Linked DNA regions of Homo sapiens: all the other regions are linked to region 3. Evidence: promoter capture Hi-C in 16 types of primary human blood cells and fetal thymus (Javierre and others, 2016). All regions are on one chromosome and are shown on one strand. Each heading gives the region's core, a stretch centred on a gene start or on the middle of the fragment in contact. The rest is flanking DNA. Distances are from core to core; before and after follow the strand shown.

Evidence for each region. Contacts are between HindIII fragments. The CHiCAGO score rates a contact against its expected background, and 5 or more counts as called.
Region 1: the fragment with the promoter of ASB1 here is called in contact with the fragment with the promoter of NDUFA10 in region 3 in 8 of 17 cell types (fetal thymus, total B cells, naive B cells and 5 more); the score reaches 17.2 in fetal thymus.
Region 2: the fragment with the promoter of ILKAP here is called in contact with the fragment with the promoter of NDUFA10 in region 3 in 1 of 17 cell types (total B cells); the score reaches 7.5 in total B cells.

What each region holds. Positions count from the first base shown.
Region 1 is chr2:238,424,434-238,428,803 of GRCh38, reverse strand. It overlaps ASB1 (ankyrin repeat and SOCS box containing 1), which reads right to left and starts at 1,877. Exons shown (of 5, transcript NM_001040445.3): 1 at 1,685-1,877. The coding sequence starts at 1,733. It overlaps LOC124908002 (a long non-coding RNA gene), which reads left to right and starts at 1,910. Exons shown (of 2, transcript XR_007088163.1): 1 at 1,910-4,370. RefSeq lists enhancers at 1,129-1,248, 2,761-3,296 and silencers at 1,499-2,018, 2,039-2,428. The HindIII fragment of the contact is 6,850 bases long and covers 119-4,370 here.
Region 2 is chr2:238,200,956-238,205,598 of GRCh38, reverse strand. ILKAP (ILK associated serine/threonine phosphatase) reads left to right here and starts at 1,904. Exons shown (of 12, transcript NM_030768.3): 1 at 1,904-2,100. The coding sequence starts at 2,046. RefSeq lists enhancers at 1,023-1,895, 2,858-2,917 and silencers at 1,708-2,277, 2,398-2,487. The HindIII fragment of the contact is 5,343 bases long and covers 1,036-4,643 here.
Region 3 is chr2:240,022,673-240,026,767 of GRCh38, reverse strand. It overlaps NDUFA10 (NADH:ubiquinone oxidoreductase subunit A10), which reads left to right and starts at 1,426. Exons shown (of 10, transcript NM_004544.4): 1 at 1,426-1,541. The coding sequence starts at 1,467. RefSeq lists an enhancer at 602-1,431 and a silencer at 1,240-1,499. The HindIII fragment of the contact is 3,872 bases long and covers 145-4,016 here.

The DNA.
Region 1 (4,370 bases), core at 628-3,127, 1.6 Mb after region 3:
GCTCAAAGTAGACTCAGAATCTTTCCCCAGCTCCAGATTCAAAAGCAACTTCAAGTTTGTGTTTCGCTGATCAACTACTCCAATGACAACACAACTGCCCCAGGATAGCACTTAAGCTTCAACTGAAAATCTGTTGCCCCTCTACCCGAGGCCGAAACACACTGAATAACAAAACAGCAGTGCATGAGGATATAAAAAGGAGCCCTCAGCTGAGTGTGGTGGCTGCCGCCTGTAATCCCAGCACTTTGGGAGGCAGAGGCGGGCAGATCACCTGAGGTCTAGAGTTCGCTATCAGCCTGGCCAATATGCCAATATGGTGAAGCCCCGTCTCTACTAAAATACAAAAATTAGCCGGGCATGATGCCAGCACCTGTAATCCCAGCTACTAGGGAGGCTGAGGCCAGAGCATCGCTTGAACCCCCGAGGCGGAGGCTGCAGTGGGCCGAGATCACGCCACTGCACTCCACCCTGGGCAACAAGAGCGAAACTCCGTCTCAAAAAAAAAGGAGACCTGTGCAGCCGACAAAGCCAGTGTTTATTCCCCAGGAACTCTCTTTATACTGGGAAGTAGCTGTTGGTCCTCTTTTTCCCACGGAACACGCATCATTCCGTCTCTCACTCTCACATGAGATGACATCCTAGACCCTAAGGTCCTGGCTGTCTCTGAAGTCAAAGTCAACGCCAACCAAAGCCCAGGATGGTAGATGCTTTGTCTGGCTTTTTCTGGTCACTGCAGTATCCTCTGCTGGGTCTAGCCAACAGCAGGTCTTCAATACAAGTCTGTTAAATGATTGGAAGGAGGTGCAGAGGGAGGGATGGATGGAAAAGCCTATCTGCACCAGTCTCCAAGTCAATCTTTTAAGATGTTTAAGAAATGTATTGGTTTATTACTAAGTAGGAGAGGAACCCCTCCAAAGACAAATATAGGCATGTAAAGAAAGCCCAGAACACACGAAACTATTGGCGCGAATGGCAAGCTCAGAAATCCAGCAAGAAGGAACTCCCACCACACCACCGGGAAACGGGAACCTGTCCTGACCGCTTCCTTCACATCTGCATGGTAGGGACACTGCAAGGTGGAGACCCTAAGTAGGACAGTTATTTTGGAAGGTGGGTGTGAGCCTTTCTATCTGCCTCCCTTGCTGGTGGGCCAAAGGCCCCTGGACATGTTGTGTCACTGACGAGCTCGCTGGAGACGGCGTCCCCGTTGTCCCTGGTCTGTGCCTGTGGTGGGTGGGAAGGCTGCCCCCCGCTGTACCACCGGACACGCCGTGGGCGGCAGAATGGTGAAAAAGTGCCTGCCCTCCCTAGGGCTACCCTCTGGCTGGCTTTCCTGATCCGTGCGCTCAGAGCTGGAAGGTGGCCCACGTCCTACTTTTGCGGTTGGGTCATATCAAATCTGTATCGGCTAACGGGAAGGAAGTTACGAGCAAGTTCCACCGGAAAGAAAATCTAGCGCGGGGACTGCACTCGAGGCCGAGGAGAGGGCAGCGCGTCCGTGGTGGGGTCGCCCAGCACTGCGAGCCGCGCTGAACCCCACCCCCGGCCTGCAGGGTGCGGCTCCCTGGCTGCCCCGTGGACCCGGCCAGCCCGGGACGAGGACGCAGGACCTCGGCAGGGACGCCGGAGCCAGCCCTTCGCCATCCCCACACGCCCCGCGGCCCAGTGGCCGCGCGCACGTTACCTGCGGAGCCCGGCCCTGCCCGCCCGTCTGGGCTGCCGCCCTCCGCCATGGATGCTTCCGCCTCCGCGGCCGCCCCTGACCCGCGCACGCCCCTCGGGCAGGAAGCAGAACGACCCGCGACCACTTCCGGCGCCGAGGGCAATGGGGGGCGCGTCGGGGTCGCGGCTTCCGGCGGGCGCGCGCCGGCCTCACTGGTTTCCGGGGCCGCGCAGGGGCCACGCCTCCGCTTCCGGCCTCGCTGTCTAGCAGGGCGCTGGCTGGTCCCTTCGTCCGGCGGGAACTTCGCGGCTAACCGACTCTCTGGATGCCGGCCGCGCTGTGGTTTCCTCACATAAGAAGCCAAGGAGTCGGAAAGCCCGTTGCCTGAGGCAGCAGTCTGGGAATTTCGGTCCGGCGGGCCGTCCCCACCCACACGGACGGGGCGTGGCTTCTGCCAGATGTGGGCGGGGCCCCGAGGGCCGTGGCGGGCGGGACCCGGGCCTCGGCCGGGCTGGCTTGGTCCCCGCAGGTGCCCCCCGCTAGCCACGAGCAGCCCCGGGAGGGTGGATTCGGAGGCGCGGGGACTGGTGAGGGCCCACTGCAGGGCTGAGCGTCGCAGCGTGCTGTGGTTTTAGATGAATGCTCCTCCAAATCCCTTCCATGAAGCCCTCAATCAGGTCGGTAACTGATGACAGCCAGTGGCTGACGCGAAGTTCATTGAATAAATGAATGCATTCGTGAACAACCGAGTAACATTTCTTGCACACTCCCAACTTCAAATATCGCAGCGTCGTCCCACCATGAGTATTGGTGTTGGTCCTAAAGCACGGATTCCCTTGGCTCCTCCCATTCTCCCCTGCTGAGTTAGACAGCGGGGCCTCATGCAGGAGGAGGATTTGTACACAGCACAGCAGGAGGCTGATGAGGGAGTCCGGAGACCCCAGCAGTCGTGGGCGTGAGCTGCTGGCTCATCCGTGTGTACAACATTCCAGACTGGAGTAAGGGAAGCCGCAGGCGCAGCCCCGCGAGTGCCCCTGCTGAGGCTGGCCCTGGGTGGCCCAGATGCACCAGGGGGCCCACTGGGGGCAGACCTGGCAGGCCCTGTGGGGGTTGGAGGCGGGAGTGGGGGTACTTCCTACAGTGGTGTTTGGTCTTGATGACAGCAGAGAGCACCACTGGCATGAGGGACAGGTGACTCCGATGATGACGCTGCCAGGCCAGGAGCCAGGGGTGTGCCCAGCCCCTGGCTCCACCACAGCTGCACATCCCGAACTCGGAGCTTCAGCAACTCCGAAGCCTGAAGCCGCCTCACGTGTTGTTGGATGGATGAATGGATAAACGAAATGCCGTCCATCCATACAATGGAATCGTACTCAGCCTTAGAAAGGAAATGCTGTCCGTCCATACAATGGATTCGTACTCAGCCTTAGAAAGGAAGGGAATCCTGACACACGTCACAACACGGATGACCTTGAAGACGTTATGCTGAGTGAGATAAGCCAGCCACAAAAAGACAAATACAGTACTGTGTGATTCCAATTATTTGAGGTCCCTGGAGCAGTGAAATGGTGGAGCGGAATGGGGGTTGCCAAGGGCTGGGGGAGTGGGGAATGAGGAGTTAGTTTTTCATGGGGACAGAGCTTCAGTTGAGGAAGATGAAAAAGTTTTGGAGACGGGTCACACAGCAATGTGAATTGTGCATTAACAGTACTGAACTGCGCATTTAAAGCAGGTTAAGTTTTATGTTCTATATATTTTACCACAATTGTTTTAAAGAATTTTTTAAAAGAGGTTCCGGTGCAGTCAGTCAGGGGTGCGGGTTGGGTGTTGGGTGGTTCAGAGCACCCAGGTGATTCTAAAGTGCAGCCTGGTGAGAGCCACGTCTCCGGGGGCCTCCGCTGCTCTGCCTGCCTGGTCCCGGTGGGCTCACAGTGAGCGTTCTGCGTGTCGGTAGCCTTTGCATCAAGGTATTGAGTCCCTGAGCAGAGTGGCCCTCCTGCACCTGCACCTCCACCTTCCCTGCCACGTGTTGCCCTTGGGATCCTGCCTCTTAGAAGAACCTGAGGCCGCACGTGGTCTGTAGCGGGGAGGTGGCCTCACATGCCCACCTCCGTGCCTCCTAAATGCCCACATGGTGCAGGGCAGTGTCCACAGAGCCAGCAGTGCTGGAGGGGGAAGGACACTCAATTGCTGGCCACTCTGCCAATACCATCACCCCCATTTCTCAGGACCCTGAGATCTGGGGGCCTGGTGCTATGCCCAAAACCACATAGCCCACAGGTGGCTGAGTTGGGATCACATCCAGACTGTCCAGCCCTACAGCCTGTCTCCCCCTCTGACCTCACCTCTCCAGAGTCCCTCTTCTTCCAGGTCCTCTGAGCCCAAAAGACCCACCAACACAGGGACACTCAGTGACCGCTAGAGATGAAGCAACTTGGGTCCCATCACCTACAAGCAACAGGGATTTACCAGTGCCTACCAGTGCCATCCCAGCCCAGCACAGCAGCAACAGGACCAGTGCAGTGGGCTGTCTTGCCCCTCCAGGTCCCAGTGGCTCCCTCCCGTTTTCCCACCCCTAAAATCACCCGTCGCTTCCTGTTGCCTCCTGGAGGCTCAGGCCTCCCCCAAAGTGTCCCCAGTGACCCCTCTGTGGAGCCTAGCCCAGTCTTTGTGGTGGAAAATTTGGCAGTCTAGCTAAAGCATAAGA
Region 2 (4,643 bases), core at 655-3,154, 1.8 Mb after region 3:
TCTCCTGACCTCGTGACCCACCCGCCTTGGCCTCCCAAAGTGCTGGGATTACACGCGTGAGCCACCGCGCCTGGCCACCTTTTTCAAAGATTTTTAACCAGCAGGATCATGGCCATCTCACAGACAATTACCCAAAAACATCTACAGACAGCGTTACTCCTACAATCAATCTGAAACCAAAGAACTCTCTGCTCACTCCCCCAGCAGGAAGTAGCCAGAAAAAATGCGCTGCCCCTTGTCCTTTTCATAACTATAGAGACTGGATTGATAGAGCAGGAGCATTGCCATCTTGGACAAACACCACCTTTCTAAGTTCCCCTTGATTAAAAAACCACCTAAATCCTACCCCAAAACATCAGCCTAACGGCTAATGTCAGCATAACCAGAAATATTCCAACCCTAAGATAAACCTCTCTTCAACCAGAAACATGCTAACCCTGAAATAACCTCTCCTCCAATAGCCTCCCCTCCGACCAGAGACATTCCAACCCTGCAATAAACGTTCCCCCACTTCCAAAACCCTTAAATATCCTTAGTCTGTAAGAGAGAATGCTTAGTCTGTAAGAGAGAGCGCTCCTGATCGAAATTGGCCAGAATCCCCTCTCAGGTTTATTCTCTGAAATAAACCTTTTAATGTTGAGCCGCTTTTTGTATTTATTTCCTCTTTCTTTAACGGTTACAAGCATTGTTACTTGAGTGTTTCTGCTGTAATGGAGGAGGCAGCATGAATATCTCAAACGGTTGCTAGTGAGAAGCCACGCAGATGAGAGGCATGAAGCCTTGTTGGGCTCCCTCCATGTCCTACAGCCAGAGAGCGTCAGAAATACATCTGCCCCAGAATGAACTGGGCTGAAAACTCTTTGCATGGAGGGAGACCACATAACCTGGGGAACTTGGGTAAACGATGTTGGAACGGAGGTGTAAGATTTGGGTTTGTGTTAGTTGATTTGGGGAAACATTTATGGAAACGGGCCTTTGCTCCGGATTGGATGTCAGGAAGAGGAGGATTCCATGATTGGATATCTTGATGAAGCTTATCTAGACGGCAGGAGGACGAGACAAAGGCTAAACATGTAATGGTAAAGAAGCAGCAATCACTCTTATTGGCCAAGACGAGGGGAATGTGGTCACTTTTGTGGCTTGGACAGTGTTCCTGTTTTGTCTGTGTTCACACTTGATTACACAGTGGTCTGTTTTTTTCTCTTGATCTGTATCACGGCCTGATGTTGGTGTTTTATGAAATTGTTCACATTCAAAGAGAACACCCAGGCCTAGCTGTTTGTGCCAGACCAACCCCAAGTCCTGGCTGCAGAACCAGGCCAGCTCCCCGATGTCAGTGGCCGCCTTTCTCTTTACAGGCATGGAGGGGGACACCATTAAGGAGGAGCCCCTCTTCTCCGCTCCCCACAGACACCAGTGGGTGCAGACAAGTCAGGGAATGCCTCCTTTCCCTCCGGCATCTTTTGAGGTTTCCGTCCTGACGCCCAGGGCCGCTCCATCCAAGCCTCGGTTTCTCAGTCTCTAAAACAGGCCAGAAACCAGGCACGCCGTGGTGAAAGGACGAGCCGAAGAGATGGCAAGAGCTCCAGAAAGCCTTCCCAGGCATCAGGGGCTGCCCTTGAGCTCAGACGTTTCTCTCTGGACAGGGCTTCTTGGACAGGAACTCAACGAAACTTGACAGAAATCGGACACCCCCAGCCAAGGAAAAGCAGGAGGGGCCCGGGGTTCGCCAAGGCGGGAAACACCGCGGGGCCCAGACGGCGCCGTCCGCCCGGCTCGCAGTCGGGGCGCGGGAGGGGCCCACGCGCATGCGCACCGCCCCGCCCCCAGCCGCCCCGCCCAGCCCGCGCGCAGCCCTCTGGGGCGGCCGGGCCACGCCGCGCGCCGATTGGTGGCGTCCGGGACTCTCCCTGCAGGTGACTGACGGCGCCGGCCGCCCCTGCCCGTCGCCCGCCCGCTGCTGCCGCCCGCCCGGGGTGTGGAGCCCGGCCGCTGCTCGCGGGCTGAGTGTCTGTCGCTGCTGCCGCCTCCACCCAGCCTCCGCCATGGACCTCTTCGGGGACCTGCCGGAGCCCGAGCGCTCGCCGCGCCCGGCTGCCGGTAAGCGGCGTTGCCGCCGGGCCGGCCAGGGAAGGGAGAGCAGGCGGGATGGGGGCGGCCTGAGGCCCGGGGCGGCTGAGGCGGCGCCCGCGCTGGGAGGCGGCGGGCGGCGCGGGCTGCACGGGGCCTGCTCCTGCCTGGCCAGGCCCCGTCCGGCCCACTGGCGGCCCTGTCGGAGGCCCGGTCGCTCGCGGAGCTCGGAGAGGCCGCTCCGCCATTTTCGCTACGCAGGAAGGAAAGGGCCGAGCCGTCGTGGCCACGGCCCCTCTGCGTGGCGGTGAAAGGCGCCGGCGCGACCGCGTGGGCCGACCCGAGGGACCGGCTCTGAACGCCCGGCGGCACCGCGGGCCCCCGCGCCCCGATTCCACCCGCGGCCTGGGCTGCCTTGCGCGTCGCCCGCCCGCGGCTTCCGGGCCGCACTTCACCCGCGGGCTGTGGAACGGCCGCGTTCCGGGCCGGTGCAAGTTCAGGGGCTTGGCGTTTTTATTTGCACTGGAGATTGAATTAATCACCATCTTAATCCTTCGTGTTTTTGAAGCCTGGAAGACAGGATGCCTCCTCTGTCATCCTGTGATTTTGTGATAATTAACAGTAGTTTTTTTTTTTTTTTTCTGGTCCACGGGAAGTTCCCCCTCTCCTTGAAGTTAAGGGGTCCGCTCATCTCCTAAGCGCTGGCCCCTGCCAGTGGGAGTCCCTGTGGGCTGTGGTTTGAGCTCAGCATCCTAGCAGCTTGAAACAGGGCCTGTGTTAATCCCTGCGTCCTGTGGGTTACAGTCTCCGGGTTTCATCTGTCAAAACGCGTGAATATTTCATATGCAAGACTTCCAGCTTGATGTTGTAGTTTAGGGCCTTATTACAAAATTTAACTTGGGGGCAGAAAACCTGGAAAACTTAAGACGTTCAGATTTCCAGGCCCACCTCAGCCCCAGTAAATCCGAATCCCTGAGAGTGGGGTTTCCGAATCTGTTACTAAATCCCCAGGCCAACCCAGCGGGGGCTGGAGACCAGTGGTTTGGGAGCTGCTGTTGTAGGGTAGACGGAGGTGAGTAAGGCCCAGCCTTCGCTTTCTAAGAGCTGCTTTCTGAAGGGTACTAATTACGGTAATTAAAACTGGCAAAAGTTAATGACTGTGGGAAATGCTGAGGACTCTTGAGGAGGGATTGTCGGGCACCGAGAGACTGGGGAAGGAGGCAGTGTTTGAATTGAGCTTCCAAGGATGTTCAGGCTTGTGATTTGCAGTAATTCTGGGCGAGAAAACATTTTATTTTATTTTACTTTTTGAGACGGAGTCTCACTCTTGTCGCCCAGGCTGGAGTGCAATGGTGAGATCTGAGCTCACTGCAACCTCCGGGTTCAAACAATTCTCCTGCCTAGGCCTCCCTACTAGCTGAGATTACAGGCGCCGACCACCACACCCGGCTAATTTTTATATTTTTAGTAGAGACGGGGTTTCACCATGTTGGGTAGGGTGGTCTTGAACTCCTGACCTCAGGTGATCCGCCCGCCTCGGCCTCCCAAATTGCTGGGATTACAGGTGTGAGCCACCGTGCCCTGCCCCCACTGACCGTTCTGATGGTACAGAGCATCTCAGTAACTGGTCCTGGAGTCTTTGAACTTGACTCAGCCATTCATTTTCAAAATAACCACGGTTTTAGCTGTGGGTAAAAATTGGATTTGTGTAGCAGTCTTTTTTCTCTTGTCAATGGAGTATAATTTCTATCTGAATATATTTGGGACAGCATTTGGATTCACCAGTGTGCGTGTAAACCTATGAGTCTTAAAATCTCCATTGCTTTTTACCTGCAATTAATTAGGTTCTGCTCAGGAGCAGGCTCCCTTGACTGACAAAAAACCTGGCAACTCAGAATCTCATAGGTTGGCACCTTAGCAGCCTTTTGCCAGATACAGTGGGAAAGGTACATCCTGTTGCCGTTTTTTCCAAACTCAGTTTCCAACCTTGACTGAGCTGAAAGGGTGGCAGAGGGGGTGCATGGTGTTTAAACTGCTGACCACCCTGAGATTGGATTGGTCAGCTGCTCCCCATCTGCCAGGAGGGCACTGACATTGTCAACAGGTCCTGCTTGGCTGAGTGTATTTTTAAAAATAGCTTTAAAACGAAGAAGATCTCAGAATTTGTAGATGATTGGAAGCTGAGAGGGATAAGTACTAAAATGAGTGACAATTGGGATCCATAGTTATCATTGCAGGCTGTTAGCTACAACCAACAAGATGAGATTTGACAGGTTAAAATCGTTTGTACAAGAACAGAATCTGGTTTCACATACTTGTGAAAATACTGTGATTTAAAAAAAAAAAACATACTTTGAATAAATCATATTGATTGCTAAAGTGAATGGAATAATGAGTCTAAACTGTGCATCATGACCCTCACACATGATATGTGGGTACCACAAATCTCTAATGCAGTGAACAATAAAAGACCTCGTTATTTTCCCAGAGCGCAAGAAAAGTTGTTCAGAAAGTGTAACCAGACTACTTGGTTTAGAATCCAGCTCTTCGCTTACTAACTGTGCCTTCTGTGG
Region 3 (4,095 bases), core at 177-2,676:
AATGATATTTCCCAAGACATTATCAGTAAATCAAGATGGAATTCTAAAAAAATGTACTGTATCCATTGGAAGGCACAAAAAAAAAAAAAAAAAAAAAATGCAAAGGAAACAAGGCAAAAAACAGCAGACATGAACCCTAAAGCTTGTTAAATGGATTTCAGGTGCCCTCCAGGATCTAAAAACCAGACCCTCCTGCGTTGGGGACCGGGAATCCGTATTTTTGACAAAAAGCAATTCTTCAATTATAGAAACATCCATAGAACCGGCCGTAGTTTACACAGCTGCATTCCCACTGTTTTACAATCGCATGATCATTTCTGAAAAGTTGAAAACAAAGTTAAAGAATATTTAAGGGGTTAAGAACAAAAAGCCTGGGGAACACAAAAGATTATAAAAACCCTTCCCAACAGCAGGCATACTTGGAAGGAAACCTCACATGCAAGGCTCCTTCGTGGAGCCCAGAGCCCAGGTCCTGACGGGAGCACATTTTAAGAGATGGACTTGCCGGCGCGGTGGCTCACGCCTGTAATCCTAGCACTTTGGGAGGCCGAGGCGGGTGGATCACGAGGTCAGGAGATCGAGACCATCCTGGCTAACATGGTGAAACCCCGTCTCTACTAAAAATACAAAAAATTAGCCGGGTGTGGCGGCGGGCGCCTGTAGTCCCAGCTACTCGGGAGGCTGAGGCAGGAGAATGGCGTGAACCAGGGAGGCGGAGCTTGCAGTGAGCGCGATGGCGCCACCGCACTCCAGCCTGGGCGACAGAGCGGGACTCTGCCTCAAAAAAAAAAAAAAAAAAAAAAAAAAAAAAAAAAAAAAAAAGAGATGGACTTGGAGCGTGTGCTTTTGTTTTCTATGCTATTCAATGTGTTCACAGCAGGTCCCCTGGATGAGACCACTTAGCCTTCAGCTCCGGAGGCGACCCAGGCCGGCCTTGCCAGGTCCCTCTCCCTGACAGGCGCCCCGCGACAGGGGTCCCACCCCGTCCCTCCGCTCCTCGCCCCCTCTTTTTCCACTTTCCCTCCCCAGCGAGAACGTTCTGAGAGCTAGGAATGTTCTCTAGGAGGTCGCTTTGACGTCCACACCGCGCCTGGGGGATTCTGCGGGGAGCACAGGACCCTGGGACGAGACGCAGAAGTCGCTCCACGCCCTGGGCGGCCTCAGCTCCCGCGACACCGCAGCAACTCAGAACCCAGGCAGGGGCCGGGCAGCCAGCATGCTGCCCCCACGTTCACCTCCAACTCCCACCTCTCGGCCCTCGCCCCAACCCGCAGGACCCTGGCAGCGCACTGGCTGTCTCCGCGGAAGCCCCCGAGGGCCTCGGCGCGGCCCCGCCCCCTGGAAGGTTCCCGACAGGCGCCGCGGGCACCCCGGCCGTGACGTCACGGCAGCGCGCCGGCCGCGAGAGAGGGCCCCGTCGCGACCGCGTCCCCTTGGGTCCTTGATCCTGAGCTGACCGGGTAGCCATGGCCTTGCGGCTCCTGAAGCTGGCAGCGACGTCCGCGTCCGCCCGGGTCGTGGCGGCGGGCGCCCAGCGCGTGGTGAGCGGGCGGCGGGGTGGCAGGGTGGCGGGGTGGCAGGGTGGCGGGGTGGCGGGGTGGGGAGCAGTTCCACATCTCCCCCGGCCTCTGGCGGCGGCTCCCAGGTCGCTCTCCGGGTGGGTTTGGGGGACCCCTCCTGCCTCCGGAATTGTTTGGTCTTTGGTCGTGGACAGACCTCAGGGGGCCACGAGCTTCTCCAGGCCATTTTATCTCAGCTTTAAGCAAAACGCTGGAGCGCGGAGGTGATCAGGGCCCCGAGGCTGCCCTGATGCGGGAGGCCCGTGTGCAGGTGGCAGGCCGGGGGCACACGCGCTTGTCATTAGATAATTCACGTAGCAGCCCTGTCAAGAGCCGTTTAAAGGTCGGGCCCTGCTGGGTGCTTGGGTGATGCCATGTTGAGCAGACACGGAGTTCAGTGCTTGTGTCCGCTTCCTTTTGCCTTTACTCTGACTGACTACTCTCATTTCTTAGCATTTTGCCCCCACCTTCTTCAGTGAAATCGTTTCATACATTTGTAACACAGTTGGATTGCTTTGTCACATTCTGCCTTACATCTTGGGATCCTTCTACCTAATGCGTTTTTTAAAATGTGCATACATTGAGCGCATTCTTTGTGCTATAAGGTTCTATGGATTTTTTCTTTGTGCTATAAGGTTCTATAGGTTTTGACACGTGTGTAATAGCATGTCTCCACCATTATAGGTTCGTACAGAGTAGCTTCACTGCCTTAAAAAATTCCCCTCTGCTTTACCTATTAAACCCTTCTTTTTCTCCAACCCCTGACAACCACAGATCTCATTAACATTTCCATAGTTGCCTTTTCTGGAATGTCATATAATTAGAATCATACAATATATTGCCTTTTCAGACGCCTTGAATACTTGGAAATATCTATGTAAGATTCACTTATGTCTTCGTGGCTTGGTAACTCATTTCTTTTTAATCACTGAGTAATATCTCATTGCATGGATGTACTTCAATTCATTCAGCAATTGAAGGGCATCTTGGTTGCTTCAAGTTTTTGGCAATTATGAATAAAGCTGCTGTAATCGTGTACATGCAGATTTCTTTTTGGAAATACATTTTTATATCATTTGGGTAATACCTGGAAGAGCGATTACTCATGTAGTAAGACTAGTTTTCTAAGAAGCTGCCAAGCCATCTTCCAGAGTGACTGTGCCATTTGACTCCCACCAGAAGTGAAGGCTCTCCTTGTTGCTCTGCGTGCTCGCCAGCATGCGGGGCTGTCGGTTACTTTGGATTGCTATCCATTCTGATAGCTGCGTAGTGGTATCTTGTTTCAACTTTGGAATATCTCATGATATACAGTGTTCATCTTTTCATATACTTATTTGCTATCTGCGTTAATTTCATTTGCGAGAGGTGTTTACATCTTTTGCCCATTTTTAAATTGGGTTGTCTGCTTTGCCTTGTTTTGTAACTTGTTTCTTCCTTACTCTTCAGTTATCAAATCAAGATCGAAAAATATCTTGATATTTCATATTCTCCTGTTTTATTTAAATTTCACTATAAAGTATTTTAATATTTTTGTGTTTTTCTGAGTACTTAGTATTCCATAATATGGATATGCCTTAATTTTGTTTAACTATTCCTCCGTTGTTGGACATTTAAGGGTTTCTATTTGCATTTTTGGTGTTACATCATACTTCATTGAGCATCCTTATAGGTCAATCTTATGTATATACTCTTTGAATGGATTCCTAATGCTGTAGACCCAGCGTCCTCTAGGTTTCATTACCATTAGCAGTTTAGGATGGTACTCATTGTCTTGTCCTAACTCTGTAATCATTTTTTAAATTATTTCTCATTTTGACACATGAAAAACTAATGTTTCCTTGTTAATAGTCTTTTGTTTTTTTGTAGCAAGGTTGACCACTTTTTCATGTGGTTTTTGGCTATATTTTATAATTTTAAAATAAGCTGTGTGTTTTTATTCTTTGTTTTCTTATTGTTCTGTACAATTTCTGTATATAGTAAGGTTATTACCCCATCATATCTGTTGAACTTCTTCAGTTTGTTTTACTTTTGGTTATGTTTCTTTTCTTTTTTTGGAAGGAATGTTCCCACTTTAGTGTGGAGAGTAAATTGGGCTGCTGGAGACAGGCATTGAAGCAGGTCTTTGCCTTGTAGATGAGAGGTGTGAGGGTGCCGACAGAGTCAGCACATGGCATAGGGAGGCGATGCAGTGTCCAGAGAGTCTGAACAGTTAGGATTTTGTGTGTAATTCTGCAGTTGAAGGAAGGAGAAAGGTATCAAAGACGACACTCAAATTTGCTCTCTTTTGCTTGTTAGGTAGTGGATATTCCTTGCTGTGAGGGAAAGCAGACTTGGGGGCTAGGATATGGATGTTGCATTTCACCTTAGCTCTGTTACCTTCAGGTGCCTTCAGGACATCTAGGTGGAGCTGTTTAATAGGCAGTGGGGTAACGAGGTCAGGACATGGGGACAGAAGCTTGGATTAGAGAAATGTTTTTTATTCCCTTCCCTTCACTCCTGAGCTTCCCTCCATCCCTGTCTTTCTTCCTCCCGTCTG